7 separate regions of the Homo sapiens genome follow, and regions 1, 3, 4, 5, 6 and 7 are each linked to region 2. The links are contacts of gene promoters, found by promoter capture Hi-C in blood cells and fetal thymus (Javierre and others, 2016). All regions are on one chromosome and are shown on one strand. The core of a region is centred on a gene start or on the middle of the fragment in contact, and the rest is flanking DNA. Distances in the headings are between cores, read along the strand shown.

Region 1 (3,213 bases), core at 636-3,135, 400 kb before region 2:
CTACCTTGACACAGGACTTTATAGTTATCCATGCTAACTTTCATCTGGTTTGTTTTTATATTGCATCAGCCAAAGTAATTTTTTTCTTTTTGAAATAAATCTTTTTTATTGTTTTTTAATGAAAGGAATATTTGCTCATTACAAAAATACTATGAAGTGCAGATAAACAAAAAATAACATTAAAATTTTATTATGCCACTCACCCACAGTTAATCATTGTGAATACTTCGGTGTATATCTTTCTAGAATCTTAATAAATATCTTTCTAAATTATCCATAAACAAATTTCCACACATAAATGACCCATAGCAGTAATTTTTAGATTCAGTCTTACATCTAGAGTATTTACTATTTCTTCTAGCTCTGAGTCAGCCACAAAGTGGCTTCTGTGTTTTTGTGCATGTTGTTGATAAAATATCGTATGGTATAAACAAAAACAGAATCCCGCCTCATAGCCCAATATTTTTCCCTCCGGAAGACTACTGATTCACAATTCAGCACTTCTTGTGTAGCAGTTTTTAACCAGTTAGAAATTCACGGGCCGGACGCGGTGGCTCCTGCCTGTAATCCCAGCACTCTGGGAGGCCGAGGCGGGTGGATCACGAGGTCAGGATATCGAGACCATCCGGGCTAACACAGTGAAACCCCGTCTCTACTAAAAAATACAAAATATTTGCCGGGCGTAGTGGCGGGTGCCTGTAGACCCAGCTACTCGGGAGGCTGAGGCAGGAGAATGGCGTGTACCTGGGAGGCGGAGCTTGCAGTCAGCCCAGCCGAGATCGCGCCACTGCACTCCAGCCTGGGAGACAAAGCGAGACTACGTCTCAAAAAAAAAAAAAAAAAAAAAAAAAAAAAAAAAAAAAAAAAAAAAAAAATTCGTGTACTTGCACTCTTAGTCCAGTTTTCTATGTTATTCAGACGGATAATGTGAGGGGCCTTATCTGTTTAAGTTACGATAATATGCAGCCTACAGATACGATAATATGCAGCCTACAGATATGGTAATCTAACTCTTGTAATTCCCAAATAACCGGGCTTCATATTAAATTGACTATTTGTAGATTCCAAACTTCAATATCGTACTACTGGCCAGGCGTGGTGGCTCATGTCTGTAATTCCAGCACTTTGGGAGGCTGAGGCAGGAGGATCACTTGTGCCCAGGAGTTCAAGACCAGCCTGGGCAACGTAGTACGACCCTGTCTCTATTATATATAATTTTTTTAATTGTATTGCCTTACCGGCTTTCAGAAATAAAGCCATTTGTCCATCTCCAATTTTCAGACACTTTTTCTATTCTTTTTGATTTTCCAAAAATTAATGGCAGCGATTCTACAATTATTTTTATTAGTTCTTATGTCTTGAGCTAGAATGTATCCAAGTCTGAAGAATCAAAGTCTTTCACGAAGGCTCCTTGTTCTCTTACTATCTTGGCCCCTATCTTGGACTTCAGTGCAACCACGTTTGTTCTACACCTTCAGGTTTTGAAGCTTTCTCATTTTCATAGAGAAGACAGAAGCAAAATAGAGCTGTAAAGAAGTTCTACTCACCATCTTCCATTAGCTTTAGAACTTGAGCCTCATTACACAGTTCCGGCCATTTTCTCTCTGGTTGTATCCAACAAAAGCCATTTTGATGCCTCTAGATTTTTTCATAAGCTTTGATTAATTTTTTTTCTTGGCTTCAGCCTTCTGGCTATAATTTCGACTCCTCTCCACCAATCTTTCTTTTTTCTCCTAGTCAGGTACTACTTTTTGATCTTGTGTGTGTGATCTTTTACAATCTGATTCCACTGAAGTGGCCTTAGCCACTCATTTGCTTCCTTACCTTCCTGTCTGTTTTCTTTTACCCCAAGATCATTTTTTAAAAATAATATCTTCAGATTTTTTTATAGACTCTTAGGCCACTTCTCCTTTTATATAAAGGCTCTAGCTGTATTAAAATACCTATCTCTCTCTTAAATATTTGAAATCTCAGATGCCTCATTCTGCTTTCTGTCTTCTTCTGGACACAATGGAGAGTGTATGGATATCATTCAATAAGGTTCTTAGGTTAGTAGCAGCAGAAACAGACTATGGCTACGGTAAACAAAAATGGAATTTGTTGGAGGGATTATCAAGAAGCTTAAAGCTCATGGTCAGAATCAGACTATACAACAGTCAGAACCAGGGTGGCTCCAGGAGTTTATTCAGCAAGAATTAATCTGTCCTGGTGCTAATAAAAGAGGATTTCAAAAGTTCATGGAAAAACAAAATTGAAAGATAAAAATTACAAAATATAAACTTTATGTCTCAACATAAGCTCCATCAAGGTCAAGACGCTTTTGTAAGCCATGATACCAGCCATTTAGTCCATCCTTAAAGAACTGAGGGCCCTGGAAATGTAACCATGTCAATGAAGTCTAATTTATATATTTAACAGAATAAAAATGGGTGCCCTTTAAAAAATTTTTTTTAAGATTAGGAAACAAAGAGAAGTCAGAAAGAGCCAAATCAGGACTGTAAGGTGGATGCCTAAAGATTTTCCATCAAAACTTTTACAAAATTGCCCATGTTTGATGAGATGAATGAGCAGGAGCATTGTTGTGGTAAAGAAGGACTCTCCAGTGAAGCTTTCCCAGGCGTGTGTTTGTGTGTGTGTGTTTCTGCTAAAGCTTTGGCTTTCTCGAGCACTCTCATAATAAGCAGACACTGTTGTTATTTGGCTCTCCAGAAAGTCAACAGCTAAGTGAGTTGAGCATCCCAAAACACTGTTGCCATGACCTTTGCTCTTGACTGGGCCACTCTTGGTAGCCATTGCTCTGATTGGGCTTTGTCTTCAGGATTGTCCTGGTAAAGCCATGTTTCATTTTCTGTTACAGTTCTTCAAAGAAATGCTTCAGGATCTTGATCCCACTTGTTTAAAATATCCATTGAAAGCTCTGCTCTTGTTTCAGCTGATCTGGGCACAACAGTTTTGGCACTCATTGAATGGAAAGTTTGTTCAATTTTAATTCTTCAGTCACATGTATAAGCTGAACCAGTTGAGATGTTTGTGGTGTTGGCCATTATTTCAGCTGTTATTATCAGCCCTGTTCAATTAGGGCACTTAATTGTTGGCCCTCGTCAATTATGGCAAGAACAAGATGATTTTTTTTTTTTTTTGCAAATTGATGTGGATGGTCTGCCACTGCTGGCTTCATCTTCAACACGGTCCCATCCCTTCTTAAAATGAGTT
Region 2 (3,397 bases), core at 807-3,306:
AACTTCATTTTTGTCATTTAAAAATTATTAATAATTCTTCAAAGTTTTACCACATGAGCATATTTAGGTATAAAGAGAAAATACTACTGGATAGCTGCTATTATATGTGCAAACTGTCAAAGAAAAATAAAATAAGCCATGTTAATAAATCCTTGTTAATAAGATTTACTGTTTAAAACATGTTTTTTTAATTTGACCTAGAAGAGACAAAAAGGCTACATGTGTAAGAATCTCTATTCAACAGAACTATTTTATATTAGTATTTTCATTCACTTTAATTTTTACAAAAGAATACATATTTAATTTGCTTAATCTCAATTTTACAACATCTGATAATCAACATTTTTTTCTTTCAAAATGTTTTGGCCAATAAATCCTCTTATGCTAAATAATATGTTACTTTTTCTTCAATTCATTTCAGCTATTTCCAAACTATTAATCAAGTGAACTCCTACTAATTGCTTAGTCAGTAGTATTTACATCTGTCATTATTTGCTAATCTTTTGGATTTTAGAAATATTTGTGTTTTTTCCTTTAGCAAAGTAGAATGCAAATACTACACATCTTCTGATTTGTATAGATCCTAGTCCACGATGTAACTTTTCAAATGCAGAAATAAGCCATTTGTTATTTGGATAAATATACTTTTTCTGGGTATATTTTCCTGCAGATAAACTACCATTCAGAAAAGTTTATATTACATTTTTTTCTTGGTAATCTACTCCTATTTGGGGGGGGGGGCTCTTTTTGATATACACTACTGTATCCAATTACTATCAAATTAATATTATAACATGTTGAAATCATGAATATTTTAGTTATCTATATTTTCCCTTGCTAAGTTCAATTTCCCAATGATTAAAAAATGGTACTTTTAGTCTCAAATTTTAAGTTAAATAAACTAGTTGTTCCTGCAAAATGACTGTAATTCAAATGAAAATTGTTAACACGTTTAGAAGAACAAATAAATTACCTTAGTAAAAATTTAGACATTTTCTAGTATTATGTACTGTAATTTTACCTAAACTATGACAGGAAGGCAACAACTGTCACACATTTTCAAAATATATACAGCACTTCCAGTAAGATAGTCGGAACTGCTGGTATTTCTACTCACACTGATCATGTGAGGAATATTATCACGGGCATCATCACCTTAGAAAATAAAAATCAGCTAGCTATGCAAATTTTAAGTATTTTTATACAGTAAATTTTACATATAAGAATAATCTGAGGGAAGGAAACTGATATTTATCTCATTACCCTTGTTGCAGTTGGGTATAAAAACGTCCACCACTCCCATTTTGAATCATTTGCCGTACAGAAAATACAGGACATTTTAATTTCTCATGATGGCAGGTTAGGGAGAGAAAGGCTTGTTATTTCTAAGAGCAAGAAACTACAGTTTTATAGGATTGAACACCTGGAGGCGTAAACATTTTATAAATCACTGAATTCTAATTACATAGTAGTTTATACGCCAGATACAACATACGTCAAAAGCCTATCTTGTTCTAAGCGGGCAGCCATCCACCGGCGTCTACCTACCGAAGCCATTTCTGCTTTTTACCAGCGACGCTGGAACAGTGTTATTGTGGGATATGTTCAGTGTTGAACAGGCTCCCAGGGCACGGCTGTTACTTTGGAGGTTATGCTGGGGTACAGAAGTTAGGCTGGGGCAGGGCCATCCACCTAGGAGGGCCCAGCACAGTCTGGGCAACCACACCGGCGGGCCGTTTTGCTCACAGCCCCACCGCGCCGGGCAGCGTCTGCAGCTGCTGCGTGCGAGACCCAGAGGCTCCGGTCAGCGCGCCGGCCGCAGGGAGTGCGAGCACTTGTGAGCCCCGCGCCGGGCCGGTGAAGTCTGGTGCTGCCGAGCCCGCTTAGAAAGCACGGCCGCGCGCTGTCGGACGCAGGCCCACAGGCCCAGCCGACCCAGGCAGCAATTTTCCTAGCCCCGCCGCCGTTGCCAAGGCGACCGCCGCCGAATGTTCCCGCCGCGGGCTCCGCCCCCCGGCCAATCGGACCGGCGCTCGGTGAAGCCCAGATTCTCTTTGTTCCGCAGCCATTTCAGGCCCCGGACAGGAGGCAGTGCCGCTTCGGCCGAAGGCCCGAGCGCCCGAGGCGTCTGGGATGGTGTGGGACCGGGTAGGTGGCGTGAGGGTGCGCGGCCCCGAACTGCAGGGGCGGGAACGGAGGCTGGGAGCGCCGAGCTGCCTGACGCGCCTACGGGAGAGACGCCGGGCTCGCCCGCTCTCTCGGCGCCTGCCCGGCCGTTTGAAGCCGAGAGGCAGCGGCGGCGCGGTTCTAACCCCAACAGCTGCCCGCCCAGGCGCCCTGCGGGACCCGGGTAGGGAGCAGGCGACGGCGGCTCCTCAAGCGTCCGAGGATCCCGTTAGGGGCGGCAGGAGCCCGTTACAAGGGGCGGGAAGGGAAGGGTCTTACATTCAGGGGAGCGTTTGCCTCGCCTGTTAAGCTGTGGCGTTTGAGGGCCCTTGAGTGCTGCAGTCGGCTGCCCCGGGACGGCTGCCTTTCACTGGTTCTGGGCGCTGGCCGGCGCTGCCCGAGATGGGCCAGTCTTTGTCCCGCCCTGGGCCCCTCTGCCCGGGTCTCCTGCGTCCGCACACAGCGCCCATCGTCCTTACATGCAGCTTGCCGTTCTCTTCCTCCCGGCGGTTCTTTCTCCTTGGGGCCTCTTGGCCTCACGACATGTTTACATAATGTTTGTGACTGTACGAGTTTTGCGTGGGCTTGTGGGTTTTGCCCTTCTACCTCCACTCCCATGCGTACAAGCAACAGGGAACAGCTGCTGAGGAGCAGATTGGCCACCACAATCAAGCTATTTTCGGAATGACTTTCTTTAAAAATGATCGCGTGTTGCTTACTGATTTTAAAAATCAACTGGATTTTGCAAGGATTGCTTAGAGTTTAAGTCTGTTATCTTAATCGCTAATCAGGATGGTCTATCAGTAGATGTAAATGTAGAAATTTGAAATTGGAGGCTATCTACAAATTGATTTTGACAGCTGTATTAAGAAGCTTAATAACTGTCCTTTGAAACAGTAATGACTTAAATGATGAATGTGTAAGTGGTACTTTTTTTACCCTAAAGAAAAGATACTTTTAAAATTGCAAGATGTATGGTGTAATAGGTGTTTGGAAATGAAGGTTGTAAAATGGCTGTCCTGACGTACTACTCACTTTTAGAATAACAAAAGTTCCTGCAGCTTTTTAAGTTTCCCTGTTATATCAAAGCTTTCATGTTAGAGTGGTGAAGAAGCTATGTTTAGTGGAAAAGGGGAAAGTTCCGTTTTTTGGGAAAGGATCTGTTTTCCACTTTCACCTTACCTGGCACCGTAGTTGTTCCTAGAGAAGGCTGTGCCAGGATGAAAATTAG
Region 3 (3,399 bases), core at 261-2,760, 490 kb before region 2:
GGGAAGAAATTGATGGCAGCCATCTTTGGGGCCTGTTGCTCCCATCTAAGAAACCACTGTTAATATTTTTGCATTTTTTTTTTTCACAGATGTAAAGATTTCATTGTTTTGGTAGATTTTGCTTTACATTGTTATAGTTATTGCTGTGTAATTATTTTCTAAATATAAATATTTTCATGTTAATCATATCCTTAGGAATCATAGTTTAATGGCAATACAGTATTTATTATATGTTAGGTATTTTCATCAACTATGCCCATATTGTTGGACATTGAAGTTTTTTCTAATATTTCACCAGTATAAATAATGTCATGATGAGAAACTCGCTGCATAAAACTTACTCTTTGTTTCCTTTTGGGGATCAGGGGGTATGAACTTTTTAAAGTTTATCAATATATAACTGTCAGATTATTTTCCAAAAGTGTTATGCTAATTTAAAGTCACACTGTATCTACAAACTTAATTCCGTATTTCAGTTTCACAAAGTTAAATCATTTCCCTTTGGCATGTTTTCCTCTCATTTTACTACACAAAGCTATTCAATGTTTATAAGAGTAGTAAAATGAGATAAATATCCTGAACACTCTTTCTACTCTTATTTTTATCATAAATATTCAAAGTATGACTTAGTTCCTTTACTGATGCTAATAAATCTCTACCCAGTTGCTGACCTTTTCCCTCTCTACTTGTAGACAGCCGGACAAGTGGAAAGATGGGTAGATCCAAGGCTCCACCAACATGTTCTCTTTCTCCCTGAGTCAGGCAGCCCGTGGCTGGGAAAGGAGAGTCACGAGCTGAAACATAAGCTTTTTATTGAGCCAAAAATGGGGAGCATCTTAATACCCTCGTTATGTTGACCAAATGCTGTTTGGTTTATTGAGGGATTTTAGACCCTCTTGAACATTTCTTGTCCAGAAGGCAATTCATTATCTCAGTGACTTTCTAGCACTTTTATTAATGTGAATGTCATTTAGCATGTTAATGTCAAATCAGAAACTTTTTTTTTGCTTTCTTTTGCTTTTAATCTGGCACAAGTTTCTCATGAGAATATTTACTGAAATATGTTGATTTTTGAAGATGTTTTCCTTAGCATGCCTTACGTTTTATAAAGATTTATATGTTGAAGACTTGTGTGCCAGGCACATCATCTCATTTAATCTTCACAAAAAAACTGAGTTGGGTTCTCTTCTTCCTTCCATTTTACAGATGAGGAGACGGAAGCACAGAGTAGTTAATTAATTTGCTCATCATCACACAAGTAGAAGAGCTAGGATTTGAATGATCAGTTTGGATTCAGAGCCTGAAAACCCTTAACCACTATCCTATATTGCCTTCCAAAAACTTAATTTATAAGTGTTGTAATGAAGCAATGAATATTATTTATAACTTCTTTTTTTTTTTTTTGAGATGGAGTCTCGCTCTGTCGCCCAGGCTGGAGTGCAGGGGTGCTATCTCGGCTCACTGCAAGCTCCGCCTCCTGGGTTCATGCCATTCTCCTGCCTCAGCCTCCCAAGTAGCAGGGATTACAGGCGCCCGCCACCACGCCCGGCTAATTTTTTTTTTTTTTGTATTTTCAGTAGAGACGGGGTTTCACCATGTTAGCCAAGATGGTCTCGATCTCCTGACCTCATAATCCGCCTGGTTCGGCCTCCCAAAGTGCTGGGATTACAGGTGTGAGCCACTGTGCCCGGCCTATTTGTAACTTCTATAAGTGGATAATGAAATGTATCAAAGTACACCTCATCATTCTATTATGGTATCATTGTAGTATATGCATTTAGAATAGACTAGCGTAATACTACTCTGACTCCTCGATGATTTTTAGCAGAAGGTAAAAAGTATCCTGTTTTATCATCAGCGCTTCTCCCCAAGGTATTTTAGATTCACTCATTATATGAATCTAAATCTGAAAGAAATATGAATATGAAGATTCTTAATGAATAAGTCTTTCTAAAATCTGATTTATGTGTAATCATGAGGTGTTGATTTTGTCATATATTGTCCTCTTGGTGTCTAAAGCAAAAAGAATTGGTTATTGAAAGTAAATTTACAGTAGTGATATGCAGTTCTGACTGGCAGACTGGCTGCCTGTAGAAATCTCAAGCCACATAGAAGACATCATTATCTTTGAGATTAGCCTTTTCCTAAAACTTAAACATTCAAAACCACATTTAATTTGTTTAGCCAGGTGATCATAGCCCAGGTGTACCTTTCTCAAGCTTAGAAAAGCAGAGAGTTGCTGTAAATTGTAAATGTGACTGTTGGTTGTCTGCCATCCTATATGAGGATGAAACCAGCCTCCAGGAGCACAGAGCATCACCCCCACTTCTTTCCCTTGTTCTCCTCTGGGTGGGGCCCATTCTGATGCACTTACAGATGCTACTAGACTCCTGCTGTTTCTTAAGGTGTGCTCACACTCAGTCTAGGGGTTGTTTCTAAATTTAGAGAATGATTACAACATACGTTTTTCCTCTGTTTCTTTTATTTTATGTCAGTCTGCTGTAAATTCTGTTTACTTGTTTAAATGATTGGTGTACTTCTGCACTCCAGGATTCCTGATTGTCTGAAATCTCCATTTCTCCCCCTCCAGACTGTGAGAGGACTTCGTTCTCTGTTGTGTCCCAGTACCTGGCACAGTACCTGCCATAGTCTGTGTCTGTCCTTTTTCCTGTGTCCTACCTTTTGGCTCATTGAATCATTTTCATTACCAGGTACCATGCAGAGAACAAAAATTTCACTTTGGGGGAGTATAAATTTGGACCGCTTTTTGTGAGGTTGTGTTACGAGTTGGATCTCGAGGAATCTGCAGTGGAGCTCATGAAAGACCAGGTTATTGTTTCCTAATTGTTTTCTCTGCCAATGTGTGTGTTTTTGGTGATATTGGAAAAGGCATGTCTTCTATGTACATTATTCCTGGGTTAGATTTTCAAAGAAAGGCTGCTGGGGCTGAATGAGCACATCTCTGCATTTTTAAGTTTCCTTGCAGTCAGTTTGTGTGAAGGGGGGTGGAGTAATATAGAACAAGTGTGGAGGAGGTATAGGTACAGATGATCCTACCTTGGATGTGTATCAATGTGGGTTGTACACCTGCTTTTTTAGGGGCTTTCAATAGAGAAGAGCTTAAGACAGTCTCCATTTAAAGACTGACATTCCTATCCTTTACCTGTATTCCCTCTCGATTTTGTATTTGTATTTTTCTGGTTGAAGACTACATTTGGGAAGTGCTTTTCTATTTTCAAAATACTTTCCGTCACATATTCTGACTTTCTGTTCCTAAAAACAAAAGTAAATAATTATTTTTACAGCTACTCATTGAATATTTACTATGTCTTCAGCATTGTGTTTAAGTACTTTAAATGTTTCATTTTATTTGTTTCTCACAATAGCCCTGATAAGGTA
Region 4 (3,477 bases), core at 457-2,956, 370 kb before region 2:
TGTATTCCGATGCGTATTTTAAAAATAGATCATTCCCAGTAAGGATGTGGTCTTGGGAGGCTTGTAACAGACAGTGTCCAAATCGGTTTAATCCCTTTAAGGTGAATTTGGCAACATGCACCAAAAGCTTTAAAAATAAGCTTTGACTTAGCAATTATGCTACTGAGAATTTAAACTGAAAAAATAGGCAGGCAGGTGCACAAAACACTGTGTGGATGCATATCACCATATTTTTTTTTTATCACAGTCAAACAATGAAAAAACTTTGTATTTAATAATAGGAGTTTGGTTAAATAAATAATGATATATCCATATAGCAAATTATGCATAGGGGATGTAGAGACCTACTAATGATCACAAAAAGATATTTGCTATGTATTTTAAGTAAAAACAAAAATATATGTAAGTATGTGTGTGTGTATTTATTTATAGTGCAGACCTGATTTTATCTAGCTAGCCATTTCTATTAAAAAATATTTGGAAGGAGGGATGTCAAAATCTTAAATTAATGAACACTCTCTTTTCACTTTTAATGTATTATTGTTTTATTTTTTACCATGAGCATATGTTTTATCATAAACAAAAGTAAATCAATAATAAAGCCATTTTCATCTTGAACAAAACAAAGAGAACCTATTTGGGGCAGCAGACACCACCCCTGACTGTGGCCCCTTTGCCAACAGCCTACTCATAGACAGGGTAGAGATGGCATGAAGAGGTCCTCTGAGGAGCTCACACAGCCCCTGTGTCTGACCTCCAGTGTCCCTGCTGTTGGGCACAGTGATTCAAGGAGGCCTCACTTTTGCCTTCAGTTTGCAGGGCTGTAGGGATGGGCTTTTCAGCATGGCAGTTTCATTTGATCCTGTCTTTAAGGCTTTGACCTTTGATGAGCCAATAGTCAGGCCTCCAGGGATGGGCGGGACACTGAGGAGGAGCAACAGGAAGGGAGGGGTCCTGGGGTGCAGCCAGACCAGGCTTCTGGGAGGGGGTGAAAAAAGAAGGGTAGGGGCGATGATGTCCAATTTTGTTCACTTTTTGATGCTGTCAGGCAATGAAGCTGTCTGTATCTTTAATCCTGTCAGGGGACAGGAAAGATCTTTTTAATGATTTTTGAGCCATTTCAAAAGCTAGAGTGAAAAATAAAAGCTAATACCCTTTGTAGATGAAAACACTGAGATTGTTGAAAGTCTGTTAAAATTTTTCAAAGCAACCCTCTGATAGTTATTTTTCCAGAACAACAGAGCTGTTAGGTGTCTTTTAGGATTTGAGCAGCAGTGTGGGGTAAATCATGGCGACCAGGTCATGCTTTCAGTTGGAGTGTGGTCTCCTCACTGACTTGTATGTCTCCCGTCCTGATGACAGAGCAAACCTCACCGCTTCCGGAAAAATCCAGGTCTAGCTTGGGGAAGTGGCTCAGGCAACTAGAGATTCAGTGAATAATTCAGGGGAAAAACTTTTGCAGGAAAAATAAAATTGTTTTTGTTTTAACTACAATTTTTTTCAGGGCTTTTGCACAAACTCCAGCCCTTTTTTTGTGACCACAGCTCCCTGTTATCCAGGAGTCACTAGAAACTCAGCGGGTACTGTAAAAAACCTGAAAGCTACAATCATTTTGTTTCACACTGTGTGTGCATATGTCTATCTGTTTATGAATATGCTTGTCCACTCCACCATCTCTTTTGTAAGGAGGTGAGTGAAACAGCACATAAACAAATCACCCCATGTTTCTGCCTAGGGTAGTGAGCACTGGCTTGATTCAGAAATTGGGCTGGAATCCCAGTTCTGTCTTCAGACTTGCTGTTTGACCTTGAGCAGTTTATCTAACACCTCTAGGCCTTGGTCTCCTCTTATATAAAATGAGAATAACACAGTCTCTTTCACGGCATTGTAGGGCCAAGCAATAATGTCCCTAAGGTGTCTCACCCTGTGCTTTGATCATACTAGTGACCGAAAAGCTGTTAATATGATTTTGCAAACACAGACATCCTAGAGGGCAGATGGTCTCCTTCCCCTAGTATCTGCCGCTGCGTGTAGTTCACTGCTTTGGACACAAGTGCATTTATTGCCTGTTTATTGAAGGGCTGGTTGATTAGACGATTAAGGAGCAACCCTGCTGAATTGAGTAGATCTGGAACATAAACTCTTCACTGCCAAGGGCTCTGGGACTGAGAAGGTAAAGGCAGTGAGAACTTTTCATTAGTTCAGTGAGGATTCAGTGGGGGAGGTGTAAACCCCTGCTCTGCATATGGGCCAATCAGCCCTACCTACCAAGCAGGAAAATTGTCCTTGGGTGTGTCTGATTGTGAACAAGTAGGAAAGACCTAGCCTGCTACCAACATACTTCTGCTAACAGTAAGGCTTGCACATCTGTTTTCTAAAAAGGAAAGAAAAATTGCGTGCCCATTCACAGCAAAGTCATGAAGAGGATACAATAAAGGCTGCACAGTCAGAAAGGCCTAGGTTCAAATCTTGACTCTGCCACTTTTCAGCAGAGCAACTTTGGGCAAATTGATCTCTTGAAGCCTTCATTCCCCCGCTGTAAAATAGAAATAATAGAAGTTCTTCCAGCTTGGAGTTGCCATGAATATTAGCGACAAGCCACCTGATGTAGTGTCTGGAACAAAGGAACAAATAATGGTACCGACTGGCATCATGATGATAGTCCAATTTACTCTAATTCACTTGTACTTACTATGTCAGAAATTAGCATCAGATTTTTTCTAGTAACATTATAAGGTTACTCTTGCTACTCTGCTGTGGTCTTGACAAGAATAACCCTCAAGGTAATGCCCCATAAAACGAATTCAGCTCCCATTTGTTGTCCACTGGACTGACTTGCAGGGCTTCCCAGAAGAGTGATTACCTTGGGAATGAAGGCCCCGCTCCATGACTCCATGCTTGACTTTCATGTGGCGTGTCAGGTTCCCCTTCAGGGTGAATTTGCTTGGGCAATAGAGGCACTTGAAGGGTTTGCTGTCTGAGTGCAGGTGCATGTGGCCCATCAGGTTGTGCATCCGGTTGAATTCCTTCCCACAAAGCTGTTGAAGATGGGGATGAGAACACAGGTTACTCTGCCCGAGTGAAGCCCCATCCAGGCCCCTGGAGCACAGATACCGTTTCTACTTTGTTTGGACATTGACATTTTAATCTGCTTGCAAGGAAAATGTCCATAAGGAAATCAGGAAGGAGCCTCAGAGGTGGAGCAAGTAGGGGTAGATTCATGAGATTTGTTCCTGGATTTCAGAGATCTTTAAATTCAAAGTAAAAATATCAAAGCTTGTAAAGCTTCTTTTGAATAAAAGCTTTTGAAAAGGAGAAGAGCTGATCTAAAAAGCAGTGGCTACAAGTGTTCCTCCTTTAATAATAAGAATGTGATTATGTGTTTAATATTTATGCAGCATTTGCAATATGGAAGGCATTGTTCTAAGTCTACCATGGAATATCTTATTTAATTCTCACACCAATCATATGAGATGG
Region 5 (3,205 bases), core at 579-3,078, 470 kb before region 2:
TTTAAACTTTCTCTTTGCCTTTTATCGGTGACTGCCTTATGTGCATTGCCCTTCATCAGTGTATTTTAAGGTAATGAGCCTTATTTTTGAAATCCCTGCTGATTCAGAAATAGTTGCTGGAGGGAGGAAGAGAAGTTGGGAAAACTTAGGAATAAATATTGAAATCTCCCAGGGAGCACATCATTTCTAGCAGAGGGCTCTAGATGGTTTATTTTTGTAAATTGCTGGGGGAACCAAGCTCCTCTTCTTGTTTATTGTTATCGAGGGCTGGCCAGTTGCCTTGTACTACATAGCACTGCATTGAACAAGGTAGACTTGTCTTTGCCTTTGAGAGGACACCACCATCAACCAAACTGGGATGGTTTTTATTAACAAAGGTGTTAAGAACTGTGAAGAGTCAGAGATTTTATCCCACTTGTAAGCTAATGAGTTAGCCTGCCCCAGTTTCACGGATGCTAGTGGAGTATACAAGACACAGAGAAATAAAGGACAATTTATTATGTAGCAGTAGCCAGAATATTAGCATCTTTGCATCAGTTTCCTGAGCCCCAGTTCCTGTGGGGAGACATGAAAAGCTCTATGTGCCTCTTGCACACATAGGAAGTTGCTTTCAAGAGAGGAACCCTAAGCTTAGGAAACCCAAATCTCTTATAATGGCCAGTAAGCATGCCTGTCCTTTGCTTTGGATGCAACACTGTGTTTGTTGTCCACAAACATCCTTGAAAAGATAGTCTGGAATAAAAGCAGTCAGTGCTTTTGCTCTCAAGGCATGCAGAAATTTGAGAGACGCATGGAAAGTTGTCTCCCAAAAAGGGTGTGCTCGTGATTTTGCCTGGGCTTTAGAACACTGAATTTAAATTGGGTTCTTTGTATTTAGTTTACCTGGGATCATTTCATTCTGTTCTTCCGAACCAAAGACAACCCCTCATCCTGATAAGTTACTCAACAAATGCAAAATGTTGCCAAGTAGACTGGTAAGAAAACATAGCTGGTTTAATATAAAAAAGGTAAATCTCTTCCAGGAAAACTATCTTTGTAAGGATCAAGAGCCTTAAAAATGTCTCTATGCTTTGACTTGGTAATTTTACTTCTGGGAATCAAGTCTAAGACATTACCAGTTTTTAAAAGTACATATGTGCACATTGTTCAGTATAATAAAGTATGGTATATTTCCGTGATGAATTGCTATGTATGTGTTAAAAATGAGGTTTCTTTTTTCTAATATTAATGCTATGAGGAAATAAATGTCTGTTGTGTAGTAATTGACCAAAAGTAGAATCAAATTTTGGGGATAAGTTAATATATTTGGAAGATTTATACATCAAATTATAAACAGTGGTTGTAACATTGGTTGGTGAGTTCTCAGTTATTCTCACTTTCTTTAAACTTCTTCTTGAATTATACTAGTAAATATTGGTAATTGGGGGGAGATGTGTTCTTTTTTCTTGTGTTAGTTGCACAAGATAGTTGTGCACAAGTTGGTGGAAGATAGGTGGTAGTATCATTCCGAAAGCACACTACAGTACCCAGTTTTGAAAGTTCATTAATAGATAGCGTAAATAGGAGTGCCTCATTAACATTCCAGCCAGCTTCCACTCTGTGCCTGCAGTAACCTGTGTGCCTGCAACTTCCTAAAAACAGAAAACGCTGAAGGTACCATTTGCCCCTAGCCAGTTACTGTTATCCATTTTCACACTGCTATAAAGAATTGCCAGAGATTGGGTAATTTATAAAGGAAAGAAGTTTAATTGACTCACAGTATCACATGGCTGGGGAGGCCTCAGGAAATACAGTCATGGGGGAAGGCGAAGGAGAAGCAAGTGTCTTCTTCACAAGGCAGCAGGAAAGGGAGAGAGCAGGGGCAACTGCCACTTATAAAACCATCAGTTTTCATGAGAACACACTGACTATCATGAGAACAGCATGGGGGAAACTGCCCCCATGATCCAATCACCTCCCACCATGTCCCTCCCCCGACACTGGAGATTATCATTCGAGATGAAATTTGGGTGGGGACACAAAGCCAAACCATATCACTAGTCTTATGAGATTGATTGTCATATCCTCTGAATCTAGAGGATGTAGAAAGGAGGAAACCAGTATTTTTGTTCATTGAGTATCTTCTGTATACTGGTATTTTATTTAATGTTCATAAAACCCAAAATGTGAGATCTAAATCTATTTTCCCCATTTTACAAATGAGGGCATTTAAATTGAAAGATTAAGTACCAGTCCAGAGTCACTTAGCTGGTACTTGCCAGTGTCTAGATTTCAGCCCGAGTATCCAGACACCAAAATCTCTGCCCTCTCCAGTGTTACCCGTAAACAAGTTTTGAAGTTGTAGTATTTTATTTTATTTTTTTGAGATGGAGTCTTGCTCTGTTGCCAGGCTGCAGTGCAGTGCCGCAATCTCGTCTCACTGCAACCTCCGCCTCTCAGGTTCAAGTGATTCTCCTGCCTCAGCCTCCCAAGTAGCTGGGATTACAGGTTCATGTCACCACTCTCGGCTAATTTTTGTATTTTTAGTAGAGATGGGGTTTCACCATGTTGGCCAGAATGGTCTCTATCTCTTGACCTCGTGATCTGCCCACCTTGGCCTCCCAAAGTGCTGGGATTACAGGCAAAGTTGTAGTTTTTGATTAACTATTGGAAAGCACATTTTGGCTCGTAAGTGTACATTTAAAGCACGTTTTTGAACTTGTGTAAGCAAATAAATTAGGAAGTAGGATCAAAGCAGGGTAGGTGCCTATAAATGAAGGCTTATCTAACCAGGTACATTTCTCAGCATTGAGACACTCACTCAGTCTTGGTTTTGCTTGTGTCTTCTTAATATTCAGATTATAATCCATATCCAGTCAAATATGTTGGAAAACCTGATAAAGACTCTAAAAAATGCTGCAGAAGGAAATTTATCAAAATTTGTGAAAAGACATGTGTTCTCGGAGGAAGTGGTGAGTATGCAAGTGCTGCAGAAATCATTTAAAAGTGAAAGGACACTCTTAAAAATGTCCACTAATTTCTCAATTCTAAAGCTTACCTTAAAGAAATTGCCAAATATGGCAGCTTCTCTGTTGTTCCTGTTTTAAGACTTCCATGTATATGTGCAAAGATTTTTTTTTCTTCCAACAGAATATATCCTCTGAAATTCTAGGAAACTTTTCCCTTTTACCTTATTCTTTTCTCCACATTGTATTCATGGGCCCTG
Region 6 (3,420 bases), core at 460-2,959, 420 kb before region 2:
TGGGAGGAAACTAAGAAAAGATTCAGTATTACCAAGTTTTAAGAATTGAAACTTCCAGGGAGAAGTAGAGACAGAATGTGGTTCACACACCATGGGAATGTGAAGGGAGGGCTTCAGCCAGAGGGTGACAAGTGTCACCCATGGCTGACAGTGGGAATGAAGAGAGGTGGCCTTGATTGCTGGGTGCTGAATGTTAAGCCCTCAGTCATGACCCATTTAGTGTAAAGGCAAAGGAATGGTGGGATGGACTGAAACCCACTGGTAATAAGAAAAGATTAAGCAGACAATAGAAGGCATGATGTGAGAAAAGGGACATGAATGACCCCAATGGTACATTGTCTTTTTTTTAATAATTGAAGAAGATGATGATATTTAGAGGGTCTGGCTAAGAAAATGAGAACCATTGATGTTTACGAAGTAGTACCATCTGTGAAATTTATTCTGTTTTACTTTATGGTTATAACTGTTTGCAGAACGGTCTAACAATTGCAACCAGACTTCTTAGAATTTCTTTTTTCCTTTCAAAAATAGCCGCTGTATTTTTGAAGATCTTTGTGTTGGGATTAAAGCCCTAAAGGCATTGTACATGAGAAAATAAGATCCTGCAAAAGCTTTTAAAGGATGAATTAGGAGTTTGAGCCCATTTAGGAAAGAGAGAAAAATCCTCCTTAAGGGGAAGTGGGAAGAAAAATGAGGAACAAAACTGTAAAAGAGGTAGACTACAGATGTTTACGTTCACTAACTGTGTTATCGGTTTCTGAATGTGGTGTGAAAAAAATTAATAGATGATGATTGACTAGGAAGTGCTAAAATGGAGAGAAAAGAATGAATTCTTCAAAATGGGGTTAAGCTATTTTTGTTATTGTTGTTAGGCAGTTATTATTCACTGAACTAGGTTTTCATATTTTGATTTTTAAAGTATAGGAATTATGAAGATAAAGGAAATGATATTTGGGAAAATATAAGGCTTGCTTTGTCATTTTAAAACTTATTTTGTAGCACTTTTCCCACTAGAATATGTTGCATTGTTAAGTTGAAATCTGGTTAAAATCTGTTGAAAAATCCACAACCAGTATTTTCTCTATGGGATAACAACTATGAGATGACTAGAGAAAATACTGGTTGGGTGCTCAACTCTTAAGCAGCAAAGACTTAGAAGGGAGGAATTCAGAGCAAGAATTTTTTCAAGTGGGCAGATGTAAGGCAAAGTAGCAAAAGGGATTTACATCGCTTCATGTAAAGCGATGGGAAATAATGTGGCAAAACAAGCTGTTTGCACCTCCAATCCTCAGGAGTGGTTTGTACTCAGACTATCAAAATGGCAAAGTTGGAATTACTCTGTTCAAAACCACATGCTTATTTACTACATGCTAAAAGATGAAAAGGCCTACTTACATTTCAGCCTGTTGAATATCAAGAGCCCCTGTTAGGATTACGATTCTTTTGATTGTAAGGAACAGTGTGGTCCCATGCTAATGCAGGAAAAGGACTCACAGGCTGAAAACTCAGGGGAATCTGATCACTAGGCTGTGCGGAGGGTGAGAACCAGGGCAGCCTTGGGCTCTGGCTAAATCCTTTTCTCTGACCCCTTGCTCTCTCCTTCCTTTCCCTCCCCTTTCCTTCCTACCCCGCCCTTCCCCTTCTCTCCTCTTCTTTCTTGGCAAATCTCCTTTCCTCTGTCTACTGAGCTGGTGTAAAATGGCTTCCTCTAGCTATCCCACCTTGTCTCCCTCTTTTTCTTGAATTTACACAGGCTGAATCCTCGCCCTGGACTGTTCTCCCTCTTCTTAGCCTGACTAGGTCCTGTCTGTTCTCTCAGAGTCTTCTCAGGTACAGCCTCTCCCAGGTAGCTTCTGTTGATCCCCTAAGGCTGAGATAAGTGTCCCACCTGTGAGATCCCAGGATCACAGTTATTAACCATGCCATCTCGGGTCCTTCCATTCTGTATTGCATGGCCTGACTGCTTGTCCCTTCCCACACTGCACCATGAGGCCCTTGAAGGCAGGGATGAAACCACCTTGCAAAAATTATAACAGTGAGAAAAGTATGACAGTGAAAGAGATCTGATATAACCAATCTCCATCTTGCCTTTAACCTCCAAACTGCCCTTAGTCATTCCTGGGCTTGGCCCAAGCTAACTTTGGGAGAAATGTAGTTTATAGTTTAAATAATAACTGCCCTTCCCCAAACTAAACTGCATTTGCAAAACTAATGGAAGACTACCAGGTTAGGAAGATGAGAAGAGCCTGAAATCTGCTAAAATGTAGGCATAAATGATTACCAGCCATTATTCTGGAGGTCACAAGGTTTGCACCTTCCCCCAGTTATTCCTGCAGATAACATCACTATTATAGAATCTAAGACTGGCCTTTTGAGATGTCTTTTCAGGCTTTTGCATTTCTGCAAATGTCCCCACCCGGACCCACAGCTCTTGACTCAACTGGTCCTATGGCCCCCATCCAGAAGTGGACTCAGTGTGCAAGGACTGTTTTTCACACTCTTATGATTGCATCCCCAAACAATCAGCAGCACCAATTCCCCTTCCCACCAAATTATCCTTGTAAACCCTAGCCTCTGAATTTTTGGAGATACTGATTTGAGTAATAAAACTCCTGTCACCCAGTCAGCTAGCTCTGTGCGAATTAAACTCTTTCTCTATTGCAATTCCCCTGTCTTGACAAATTGGCTTTATCTGGGCAGCAGGCAAGGATAACCTGTTGGGCTGTTACAGGAAGTATCCCTTGTTTCCCCAGCATGGAGATATCTATGAATGGTATGCCCTAGGGTTGTACAGTGACCCCCTGACCAGAAGCTTATTGGATATTTATTGAATAAATGAATGAGTGAATAAATAAATCTATCACTCACATTTCTGAATTACACAGAAATTGTATTGTCTTCTGTATTTGTCTTCATCATCATGGTATGCATCAGATTTGCTTAATTCTAGAGTTTAATTTCAGAAATCTATAGTGCAGACCAGGCATGGTGGCTCATGCCTGTAGTCCCAGCACTTTGGGAGGCCAAGGCAGGCAAATTGCTTGAGTCCAAGAATTCAAGACCAGCCTGGGCAACATGGCAAGACCTCATCTCCACAAAAAATACAAAAAACTAGCCAGGCATGGTGGCATACACCTGTAGTCCCAGCTACTCAGGAGGCTGATGTGGGAGAATCATTTGAGCCTGGTAGGTGGAGGTTACCGTGAGCAAAGATCGTGTCACCACATCCCAGCCTTGGCAACACAGCAAGACCCTGTCTCAAAAATAAAAATTATTTTTTTAAAAAGAATTCTATAGTGCAAATTAGTACAGGTCTAGCATTAAGTAAAATTGGACTGACACCAATAAAGAAGGACCCTGAGTCATTTCTTGTCTTGGATTCCTTGATTGAGAATTTCAGTAGCTGATGTATCTCAGCTG
Region 7 (3,389 bases), core at 100-2,599, 320 kb before region 2:
TGAAGACACATGGAATGGGACTGCCTTCTGCAAAATGATGCAGTTTTGAGCAGAACTTTGTTACCCACAAAACTGGTGTCTCTATTCCTTCACAAACATCCCCATTTAGATCTGAGGCCCAGGCTGCCACCAGAAGAACTCTCTGCCCCTGGAGACTTCTCCCCAGCCAGAGACAGGTGATTGTGCCATGAAATCACTGGGTGCTAGGAGGGCTGCAGACCATGTTGGAGGAAACGCCTGCTTGCCTGCTGCATCACTGATTGTTTCCTGAATATCAAGAAAGACGATGCTGGGAATAGTCCCTCCTTGCCCAGATCTCTGAAAAGCCAGGTAGGAGGTGAGATTCTGGATATGCCTGCCAGCAACCTTTCAGAACTTTTCACATATTCCTCACCCTAAGAATTCAAATTCTAGCACTTCAGGAATCCTGCCTTTTTTTTTTTTTTTTTTTTTTTGAGACGGAGTCTCGCTCTGTCACCAACCCCGCCTTTATAGATTAAGCATAGAACTCTTTGGTACCCTAAAAATGTTCAATATATAGATTTTTTAGGATAATGCTAGAAGACCCTTCTTTGTACTTAAAAAAGAAAAAAACAACTGAAAAAGTTCTCTGGAAGTAGGGGTGAGAGGAGGAAATTCCACCGTGTCGTGGGAAAGAAAATGCCTGAACTAGAAAAACAGCAAGAAACAAGTGGTGGACACTATGGAGGTAGGCGTTCCATTAAACAGCGCTGAAAACCTGAAATTCCTCATCTCCCTGCACTTTCCATGGAAGGTGGCCAGAGGGCCTCAGTCACGGGAGAGATGCCATGGGCTCCATCCAGGCAGAGGCCCCATTTTGTCCAGGCTTCAGCAAACCAGAGGCGATTCCGGTCCTCTCCCTCGCTCTCTTCCGGCGCTGCTTCCTTCCCCCACCCCTCCAACAATAGTCTCCTCTTGATTTCTGTTCCAAGAGAGAACGGTGAGTCCCCAGTGCAAAGGAAACTCTAAGGATTCTTTCCACAGAGTTTTCTCACTGGGAAGAGGGAGGCGTGTGGACTGGCGTCTCCTCTTTGGCTGTGATGCTGGAGAAGCGGGTCCTCCCTTTCTCCCTGAGGAAGACACAGGGCAGACAGCAAGATTTCTCATCCTTATTCTCAAGCATTCAAAGGAAGAAAGCGGCAGAGTACGTTTTCTTCCTGGAAGAACTCTGCGGTGCCCTAATGTGTGCACTATGGTTTTAAATGTTTTTTTCAAGCTACTGAAAAAAGCTAAACTATTTTTTAGGGTAATCTGCCTGAAATACTCATCACTACCCTCCCTGGGGGCTTCCTTACCCTGAGCCAGCAGCTTGAATAATAAGCAGAGCCTTGGTCCCCTCTTCAGCTTTGTTAGATCTGGGGAAAGGCCTAGAAATCTGCCCCAGGTAACTCTGATGATTGGTGCTCAGAAAGCACCTGAAAATAATACCCTCGCCCTTTCTGAGAGTGCTAGGATCCCATGATATGGAGTTAACTTCATGGGAGAGATCACAGAAATCATGCCTACTGTTGCTCAGAGCTGAATAGATTGGAGACTTGTCCAGTAATGCCACTATTTAATAGGGAGGTATGTTGTCTTGGACAAGGTCAAAGTTAACAAATGGCTTTGTAACTCCTTGGAATAGAGTCCTACATTCCCTGATCAATCTGTGTGCAACAGTCCAAAACCATAAGGCAGTGCTGCTCAGACTTGAATGTGCAACTGGTCACTTGGAGATCTTGTTAAAATGCTGATTCTGATTCAGTTGATCTGCAGTGGAGCTGGGATTTATTCTGCATTTCTAACAAGCTCCTAGGTGGTGCCATGGTGTTGGTCTTTGGACCCCATTTGAAGGCTACTACCTTAAAGGATACATATTTGTTTTAAAGAAATTATTAGCTACAGATGACACTTTTTCCTTATAAGGAAACTGAAAACAAGCAACATTAATTTACTGACCTTGAGCAAATCACGTACTTTCTGTAGTTTATCTGTTAAACAAGGTGGTTGCCTTTCTTCAGCTCTAAGATGAGGAGAATAAGGCACGTACTTGAGAATGGGGTAAGTGAAATGAAGTATCTAAAGTTCTGAGGAGGCCCCAAACCTAGTAATGACTCCTCCATAATTGTTGGCGCTGGTGGTGGCAGTGCCGTTGTTGGTAAATCACTCTCCCATTTAGTATCAGTGGCCATCAAAGAATGAGGTCAGAGTGGGGCCATAATCTATCAAAGGAATATAGGAGAATTGCCCAGTATTCTCTTTGTGTGCCCTGGTACTTGACACTAAAGAGAGATTCTATCAATGTTAATAGAGAGTGCCTTTTCAGTTTCTACTCCAATTAACAGACACCTAGAACCCCAATGTTGTTAAATGTAAAAAGCATCATCCAAAATCCCAACTTTTGTTACTAGGTGTTTAGATTTGCCACTTTAAATTTGCCAAATAAGTATAAAACTGACTCGATCCAGTGGTTTTGGCCTTCTTCAATTGGCTTGAATTAAAGAAAGGAAAGGGTATTGTGCTCAACAAGGGTATCACATTTCTCTCCCTGAATTTACCCCATGGTGTTTTGTCAATTCAGCCCAAGTGGCATTCCTTTAGCTTGGATTCACAGCCTTTGCCTATAACAAACCAGAGAGCTGAACACTTCCTACAAGGCTGGATCCTGGCTCACAGCTCTTTTAGTCAAGGAAAAACAAATGACCGTTCTCTGTCTCGCCAAAAACAATTTGCAAACCCATCATCTGCCCAGAAAATAAATGGAAAATAAAATGCAACAACAGTCTTTTCTGTGTATCTATCTGATAAATGTTAATTTCCCATGAACAAATGGGTGGGGGTGCTTGCCAAGACGACATTTTAATACACATGTAGCAGCCCCATGCACACAACAGCAGAACAAGCCCATATAGTTCCAGTCAATTCAGGTGAGGGATAAATCCATCAAGCTGGCAGTTTGGCATTGTCTAGACTCCAGAAAAGTTTGACTAACTTTTTTTTTTCAAATTAATGGCTTCATTTGGCATTGTATAAAGATAGCATCTTTCATTCTACAGCCCACTGATTCATTAACTCATCTATTTAACAAATATTTATTGTGCATCTATGACAGGCTCTGTGCTATTGTAGGCCCTGGGCAGACAGCAGTGGACAAAACAAAGTCCCTGTCCTCATGCTGCTTCCTTTCTTGTGAACTTATGTATTACACATAACGCTGGATGAAGACATGTTCTTATTCTTTTATGTAAATACCATTGTTTTATGTAAATGTATTTGGTTTTTGAATAGTCTAAAAGAACAGCCTTCATTAGGCTAGTTGTTTCTGAGGGTGCACATTAAAATTATTTGCTGTCTCTATGTTCCTGTCAGAGGGAGATCTGTGTCCATTG

Evidence for each region. Contacts are between HindIII fragments. The CHiCAGO score rates a contact against its expected background, and 5 or more counts as called.
Region 1: a contact is called between a fragment that was not itself captured here and the fragment with the promoter of TNPO1 in region 2, in 2 of 17 cell types (M0 macrophages and M2 macrophages). The highest score is 6.7, in M0 macrophages.
Region 3: a contact is called between a fragment that was not itself captured here and the fragment with the promoter of TNPO1 in region 2, in 4 of 17 cell types (total CD4 T cells, M0 macrophages, total B cells and 1 more). The highest score is 7.1, in total CD4 T cells.
Region 4: a fragment that was not itself captured here is called in contact with the fragment with the promoter of TNPO1 in region 2 in 3 of 17 cell types (M2 macrophages, endothelial precursors and M0 macrophages); the score reaches 8.4 in M2 macrophages.
Region 5: a fragment that was not itself captured here is called in contact with the fragment with the promoter of TNPO1 in region 2 in 7 of 17 cell types (M2 macrophages, M0 macrophages, M1 macrophages and 4 more); the score reaches 19.0 in M2 macrophages.
Region 6: a contact is called between a fragment that was not itself captured here and the fragment with the promoter of TNPO1 in region 2, in 3 of 17 cell types (M2 macrophages, M0 macrophages and M1 macrophages). The highest score is 7.8, in M2 macrophages.
Region 7: a contact is called between a fragment that was not itself captured here and the fragment with the promoter of TNPO1 in region 2, in 2 of 17 cell types (M2 macrophages and M0 macrophages). The highest score is 6.2, in M2 macrophages.

What each region holds. Positions count from the first base shown.
Region 1 is chr5:72,419,721-72,422,933 of GRCh38, forward strand. No RefSeq gene overlaps it. Among named protein-coding and RNA genes, the nearest start is that of ZNF366, 86 kb to the right of the region's middle. The HindIII fragment of the contact is 465 bases long and covers 1,654-2,118 here.
Region 2 is chr5:72,814,605-72,818,001 of GRCh38, forward strand. It overlaps TNPO1 (transportin 1), which reads left to right and starts at 2,057. Exons shown (of 25, transcript NM_002270.4): 1 at 2,057-2,148. The coding sequence starts at 2,134. TNPO1-DT (TNPO1 divergent transcript) reads right to left here and starts at 1,944. Exons shown (of 9, transcript NR_186518.1): 1 at 1,549-1,944. RefSeq lists enhancers at 1,624-1,703, 2,784-2,833 and silencers at 1,964-2,063, 2,104-2,323. The HindIII fragment of the contact is 3,194 bases long and covers 1-3,037 here.
Region 3 is chr5:72,328,547-72,331,945 of GRCh38, forward strand. PTCD2 (pentatricopeptide repeat domain 2) reads left to right here. Exons shown (of 10, transcript NM_024754.5): 4 at 2,712-2,829. Among named protein-coding and RNA genes, the nearest start is that of PTCD2, 9.9 kb to the left of the region's middle. The HindIII fragment of the contact is 1,413 bases long and covers 805-2,217 here.
Region 4 is chr5:72,444,380-72,447,856 of GRCh38, forward strand. ZNF366 (zinc finger protein 366) reads right to left here. Exons shown (of 5, transcript NM_152625.3): 4 at 2,864-3,038. Among named protein-coding and RNA genes, the nearest start is that of ZNF366, 61 kb to the right of the region's middle. The HindIII fragment of the contact is 3,136 bases long and covers 139-3,274 here.
Region 5 is chr5:72,349,804-72,353,008 of GRCh38, forward strand. PTCD2 (pentatricopeptide repeat domain 2) reads left to right here. Exons shown (of 10, transcript NM_024754.5): 9 at 2,838-2,951. Among named protein-coding and RNA genes, the nearest start is that of PTCD2, 31 kb to the left of the region's middle. The HindIII fragment of the contact is 2,403 bases long and covers 628-3,030 here.
Region 6 is chr5:72,398,477-72,401,896 of GRCh38, forward strand. No RefSeq gene overlaps it. Among named protein-coding and RNA genes, the nearest start is that of PTCD2, 80 kb to the left of the region's middle. The HindIII fragment of the contact is 2,201 bases long and covers 610-2,810 here.
Region 7 is chr5:72,499,048-72,502,436 of GRCh38, forward strand. The region is part of intron 1 of ZNF366 (zinc finger protein 366); the gene reads right to left. Among named protein-coding and RNA genes, the nearest start is that of ZNF366, 6.7 kb to the right of the region's middle. The HindIII fragment of the contact is 4,706 bases long and covers 1-3,389 here.